Linked DNA regions of Homo sapiens: region 1 is linked to region 2. The links are contacts of gene promoters, found by promoter capture Hi-C in blood cells and fetal thymus (Javierre and others, 2016). All regions are on one chromosome and are shown on one strand. The core of a region is centred on a gene start or on the middle of the fragment in contact, and the rest is flanking DNA. Distances in the headings are between cores, read along the strand shown.

Region 1 (3,724 bases), core at 309-2,808, 43 kb after region 2:
AAAAACAAAAAACAGGGGTGAGGGGGGAGGGATAGCATTAGGAGATATACCTAATGCTAAATGATGAGTTAATGGGTGCAGCACACCAACACGGCACATGTATACATATGTAACAAACCTGCACGTTGTGCACATGTACCCTAAAACTTAAAAGTATAATAATAATAAAATTAAAAAAAACAAAAAACAAAAAACAAAAAAATGAGCTGGGCTTAGCGGTATGTGCCTGTAGTCCAAGCTACCTGGGATGCTGAGGTGGGACGATCACTTGAGCCAGAGACCTCAGCCAGGAGGCAGAGGTTGCAGTGAGCCAATACCATGCCACTGCACTCCAGCCTGGGTGACAGAGTGAGACCCTGTCTCAAAAACAAAACAAAACAAAAAAATTAACAGGACATGGTGGAAGCATGCCTGTAGTCCTAGCTACTTGGGAGGCTGAGGTAGGAGGATTGCTTTACCCCAGGAGTTTGAGGCTACAGTGAGTTGTGATGCCACCACTGCACACCAGCCTGGGCGACAGAGCTTGTCTCTAAAAAATAAAGAACCAAATAAGTAAATAAAAATAAAGTAATAATGTTCTGAGTGCAACTGAGTACACTCTGGAGTATAAATCTGAGCCTTCCCAAATATAGGCCATGTGACCTTGCATTATGTAATTGGCACTAAACTGCTCTAAGCCCCAGTTTCTTCATATGTGAAATGGGTGATTAAGAATGACACCTATTCTCACACAGCTGTTTTGAGGATTACATGAGCTGATGTAAGAAAAGCTCTTAGCATGATATCTGGTATACAGTAAATGCCCAATCAAGATTTGCTGTTGTTGTAAGCACCTACAGGAACAACTGTTCCTACTTTAAGTGTGTTTGACACCGTAATCCATTCTCTGTCTGCTTTCTTCCTATAACAGAGTGTTAGTCAGAAAAGGAAGGAAGGAAAGGCCATTTTTTCCATTTAAACAGGGACCACACTGTACAATAGAGAGTAAAACTCAGAATGAAATGCACAATGTTCATAGTAGGTCTGTACTGAAATCATTCAAGTATTCAAGCTTGGATTCACAGAGGGGCTTTGTGGGCACACTAAGCAAGAGCAACTACAAACAACACTTAGGCCTTTTCATTCAGATTTCAAAGGCCTTTCTCTTATATATCACTAGTGCTATAAAATAATGCAACAAAGAGCTTCTTTATACGCTTTCTTCTACAATCTTTTAAGAAGTGGACCCCCCTTCAAAAACAGCTTTAAACTGATAATCATTTTAAGTGATCCTGTGCTAAATTTAGCCCACAGCCAATCCATTTGTTGTTGTTATTGTCTTTTTTTTTTTTTTGAGATGGAGTCTTGCTCTGTCACCCAGGCTGGAGTGCAGTGGCACAATCTTGGCTCACTGCAACCTCCACCTCCTGGGTTAAAGCAATTCTCTTCCCTCAGCCTCCCCAGTAGCTGGGACTACAGGCACACGCTGCTACGCCCAGCTAATTTCTTTTGTATTTTAGTAGAGATGGGGTTTCACTGCGTTGCCCAGGCTGGTCTCAAACTCCTGACCTCAAGTGATCTGCCCGCCTTGGCCTCCCAAAGTGCTGGGATTACACCTGTGAGCCACTGCACCTGGCCTGTAGTTTTTTGTTAAGAGACACGTCTGGCTGTGTTGCCCAGGCTGGCCTCAAACTCCTGGACTCATGTGATCCTCCTGGCTCAGCCTCCTGAGTAACTGGAACTATAGGCATGAGCCACCATACCTAGCCGTTATTTTATTTTCCTTTTTTGGATACAGGGTCTCACTCTGTCACCCAGGCTGAAGTGCGGTGATGCAATCTTGGCTCACTGCAGCCTTGACCTCCTGGGCTCAGGTGATCCTCCCACCTTAGCCTCCTGGGTAGCTGGGACTATAGGTGCTATGCCTGGCTAAGTTTTTGTATTTTCTGTAGCAATGAGGTCTCATCATGTTGCCTCAACTGGTCTCAAACTCCTAGGCTCAAGCAATTTGCCCACCTAGACCTCTCGAAGTGCTAGAATTATAAGCGTGAGCCACTGCACCCAGCCCATTATTTTATTTTCCAATAAAGCTTTGCCTAGATAATAAATAATTTTTTGTTGCAGATTATACACCTCATAGTAATAACAAACCCTAAATTGGTATCTAGGCAAAATCATCCACTAACAAGACTCTAGAAGTATAAGACCAGCTCTGTCAATACCACTGTGACAAATAAGTGGTTATGAAAGGTGAGTTTGGGGGAAAAAAAGAGTCTAAAATCAAGGCCATCATTTTACCAGGATAATAATCTACCTGGATCGTATTTGTAAGTTGAATGTGGGCACTCAAATGGCTTCTAGGTCTCATCTAGGGATTCTTTCTTCTTCATTACTCCTGCTCATGATTTCTAAACATCACATTTTACTATTATGCCAAAGTGAAAACACAGAACACTGTAAAGTGTACATTAACTGGCAGACTAGACTAACTCTAGCTAAAGTGAGCTACAAGAGTTAACTTGGGATTCCAGAGACAATATTTAAGAAAACAAATAAATAAAAATAAAACAAAATAAAATGAGAGAGACAGAGAAAAAGAAATACCTCTTTTTGTAGCATGCACCAACAGTCTATCCAAGACGTATATATTGGGGAGTAAGGAGGGCATCCACCAGCAAGACTAAAATAGAAAAAAACATGGAGCTATTCATGTTAATATTAACCATTCTCTTGAGACGTTGATAAACCTTGTCAAAATATTCTGCTGCACAGAAGATTCCCTGAGAGATCATTTTAGTTCAATGAAACAAATCATATTGAAGCAGGGGAACGATCAAGCATCCAAAAGAGAATTCCTCCCCTATATTTAGGTTTCAAATAAATAAATAAACATAAACTTCAACCTTAATTTCTAAAACATTTAGACTTTTCCTTTGTGGACAAATGAAACTCCAGAACACAGCATTTACATGATTAAAGAGCAGGGAAAGGTGGCCGGGCACGGTGGCTCACACCTGTAATTCCAGCACTTTGGGAGGCCAAGGCAGGTGGATCATTTGAGGTCAGGAGTTCAAGACCAGCCTGGCCAACATGGTGAAACCCCATCTCTACTGAAAATACAAAAACATGAGCTGGCATGGTGGCGCATGCCTGTAATCCCGGCTACTTGGGAGGCTAAGGCATGTGAATTGCTTCAACCCAGGAGGCGGAAGTTGCAGTGAGCCAAGATTGCACTACTGCACTCCAGCCTGGGTGACAGAGTAAGAACCAGTCTTTTTTTAAAAAAAAAAAAAAAAAAAAAGAGCAGGGAAAGGAGATTTAAAAACTAACTGGTGTTCACAAAGATACTAAACATGAAAACGGATATAAACAGTAGATATATATGTTCCTACTTAGGTATAATCACTTCATCTTGAAAAAACTGTAAATAATAATAATACATTTAATTCATCCTTCAAGTTTACACTGTGCTAAAAAATGGCAGTTGCTCTACGTATCAGAAAACATCACAGCTTGCCAGGAGTAACATGAAACAAACAAAACCAGAAAACAAACAATGTAAAATGTTCAAAACTCCACATAGCTATCTGATCTTATTTGAAAACAGTAACATGTTTAATGATATGTCAGGTACCATATGGGAAAAGAATTTTGAATTAAACAAAAAAGGCAAGGCTGGGTGCAGTGGCTCACGCCTGTAATCCCAGCACTTTAGGAGGTCGAGGAGGGTGGACCACTTGAGGTC
Region 2 (2,822 bases), core at 1-2,500:
ACTCGCTGACATCCTGCAGCACAATCACCCGGTTGTGGGCCTCCTTCAGGTTGGAAGTGAACATGGATCGGAAGAAGCAGCTCTGAGCTGAGAGGACCAGCCGATGGAGCTGAAACTCCCGGCCTTCCACCGAAATGGTGACATCAGCAAAGAGCTCCTCCTCTAGACACAGTTTCATGATGCCTTGAGCCACACGGCCTGAATGTGACCGATCTTTGAAAGTGTAGTTCACAAAGTAGTTCTCATCCATGGATGCTCCAGGCTCCTCTGGTGATTCCATGCTAGCCAACTTCTCTCTCTGCCAGCTGTCTGCAAAGCAACACCATCTTGAGTAACCTGAGGAATTCACAGCCATAGTCTGTGAATCCAACTGTCCAACTCAGGGAGGGAAAAGGAAGAAGTGAGAGCAAAGTGGGTCCAGATTGGCCTTAGTCCTGGCCCTGTCCATGATGTCCCTGACGCTATCCTTTAACCAAATCTGGGTTCGTTATCCCCAGTGGCGCCCCTCCGCTAATGATATAAATAAAAGTTCCAACTCTGGGTGTTTTCCTGAGAAAACACGGAATAATTCCTTTCCATAATGTTAACAAAAGACTTGGGATTTAGGTCAATATATGAAAGCAAAGGGCTGGGAGAGGCCTGTGATCGTAAAAGCCTTACTAACCAAATAACTGGGGCATAAAACTAGTGAAGCTCAGGGGCAGTAGAATCAGACAAAAAGGACCCCTGGCCCCGGCCTAGTGGCCAGGTCCTCTCCTTCCCAGCGCATGGAGTTAAGACGCTCCATATGAAGCCTAGCCTGGGATATCCGTGGGTCTTACATTTGCTCTCTTCTGAGCTGCTTCCCCCACACTTCCCCGCTCGCTCGAAAGACTCCCTATGGCTGCGTCCCAGAACTTGAGTCCATCCGCCCCCAGGCCGGGGCACTGGGAGGCCCATCACCCTGTGCAATGTCCCCGCTCCACCTTGAGTCGTCTTGGAAACGGTCGCCAGGGAAACCGTTCTTCCCGCTCAGGCCCGCCCGCCCTCGTCAAAAGCTTGGCTCAGAGAGCGGGGGAGGGGTGTGTAGCGTAGAACCCAAAACGCCCGCCCCCTCCCCTCCTCTCACCCGCCTGGTTCTTCAGCGTCCTCGCCTTCTCTCTAGGCTCTGCCACAAGGAGCTAGGACCACGCTCACCTCACGATTTCCCTACCTGCCTGTCTCGCTTTCTCACCTGCGTTCCCTCCTTTCATCCCGGAGCCCGGAACCTCCGCTTCCGGCTCCACGTCCGCCCGGAAGAAGATCTGCTGCACACTTCCGTTTCCGGTCCGTGCCCTTGGGGCTCCGTGTCCTGCTGTCTTTCCGTCCGCTGCCTAGTCTGCATCTGAGTAACATGGCGGCGGCGGCGGTAGCCAGGCTGTGGTGGCGCGGGATCTTGGGGGCCTCGGCGCTGACCAGGGGTGAGCACGGGCAGCCAGCTGAGACCGGGGTCAGGCGCAGCGGCGTGCCCAGTGCAGAGAGCTCCTCAGGGCTCATCCCGCGCGTCTGTGCCTTTTATCTCCCTGTGCAGGGACTGGGCGACCCTCCGTTCTGTTGCTGCCGGTGAGGCGGGAGAGCGCCGGGGCCGACACGCGCCGTGAGTATGTGCGGGCAGCGCTCTTCTCTGAACTATCGGCGGGGCCCCTTAGATGCCTGTCCTTGCCCTAGGATGCCCTTCCCTACGTCCTCCTGGCAAATCTTGGAGATCTGACTTGCAGTGGTCTTCACCCTGCATGCAGAATCGAGCCCTCCCTGTGCCCTTAGGCCTGTTATGGCCCTGATTGTTCCTTGTCCATTTCAATCATCCCCTTTTTGTCTGATTAAACTGTCAGCTCTTTGAAAGCAAGCAATATAACCTTTAGGCCTCAGAGCCCTGTAATAATAGTACCTAGCGTTAATTGAGTGCTTAATGTGTGCCTGGAACCTCGCTAAGCGTTTTAGTGAATGATCTTATTTCGTCCTCACAACAGCCTTATGGGGTAGATAGCATCTTACTCTTCTTACTATAGATCAGGAAACAGTCCAAAGAATTAAACTGCCCAGGGTCAAAGACCTAGTGAATGACAAAGTAGGCCTGCCTGCTGCCAGAGGCAGAAACACCTAACCATTATTCTGTAGCTTGTGATGTGTGATTGCTCAGTGGTTTAGGGTTGCATGAATGAGTATGTACATATTATGTTACAGTCAAGATACACGGACTGGGAGTTAGGAGACCTGGCATTTCTCCTTTCCTGGGTTTTCTCATTGACACACACACACACACACACACACACACACACACACACACACACACCTGGGCCTCAGTTTTCTCATTGACACACACACACACACACACTTTTAAGGAGAGAGAGAGTCTGTGAGGGATCTTCAAGCCCTGAAGTTCTTAGCTTGAGAACCTGGTATAAACTTGCGTGCTAAGGAGCTACAGAGAGGCAAAAGTTCAGTTCCCATCCTCAAACAGCTCTTAGTCTGACAGGAGAACTGAGACTACTGCTTTAGCAGAAATGCAGGCAATGTGAGGGAAGAACTGTGGAGTAATTTTGAGAAGAGGTGAACACCCCAGCTGCTATAGTAAGAGTCTTTCTGAGGACCGTGTAGTTAAGGTGGCACTTTCCCCAAGTTTTCATCACTGTATTCCCTAGAAGGGAAACCTTTCACATGCACCTTTCTCAAGGTGCTTCAGGGAGCCTTTCCTGGATTTGACATCCCTTACAAGCCTAAGAGACTGCATGCAGGGCTGGCTTTTGCCTTCTCCATTTCTTTTTTAAATATGCCTTTTCCTTCCAGCCACTGTCAGACCACGG

Evidence for each region. The method cuts DNA at HindIII sites, captures the fragments that hold promoters and counts their contacts. A CHiCAGO score of 5 or more calls a contact.
Region 1: a fragment that was not itself captured here is called in contact with the fragment with the promoter of KBTBD4 in region 2 in 3 of 17 cell types (M2 macrophages, M1 macrophages and M0 macrophages); the score reaches 6.4 in M2 macrophages.

Annotation. Positions count from the first base shown.
Region 1 is chr11:47,620,118-47,623,841 of GRCh38, forward strand. It overlaps MTCH2 (mitochondrial carrier 2), which reads right to left. Exons shown (of 13, transcript NM_014342.4): 12 at 2,584-2,659. Among named protein-coding and RNA genes, the nearest start is that of MTCH2, 21 kb to the right of the region's middle. The HindIII fragment of the contact is 1,018 bases long and covers 1,050-2,067 here.
Region 2 is chr11:47,577,720-47,580,541 of GRCh38, forward strand. KBTBD4 (kelch repeat and BTB domain containing 4) reads right to left here and starts at 1,251. Exons shown (of 4, transcript NM_018095.6): 1 at 1,214-1,251; 2 at 1-309. The coding sequence starts at 1,232. It overlaps NDUFS3 (NADH:ubiquinone oxidoreductase core subunit S3), which reads left to right and starts at 1,355. Exons shown (of 7, transcript NM_004551.3): 1 at 1,355-1,439; 2 at 1,550-1,615; 3 at 2,806-2,822. The coding sequence starts at 1,373. RefSeq lists enhancers at 810-1,469, 1,162-1,401, 1,470-2,128. The HindIII fragment of the contact is 1,977 bases long and covers 1,036-2,822 here.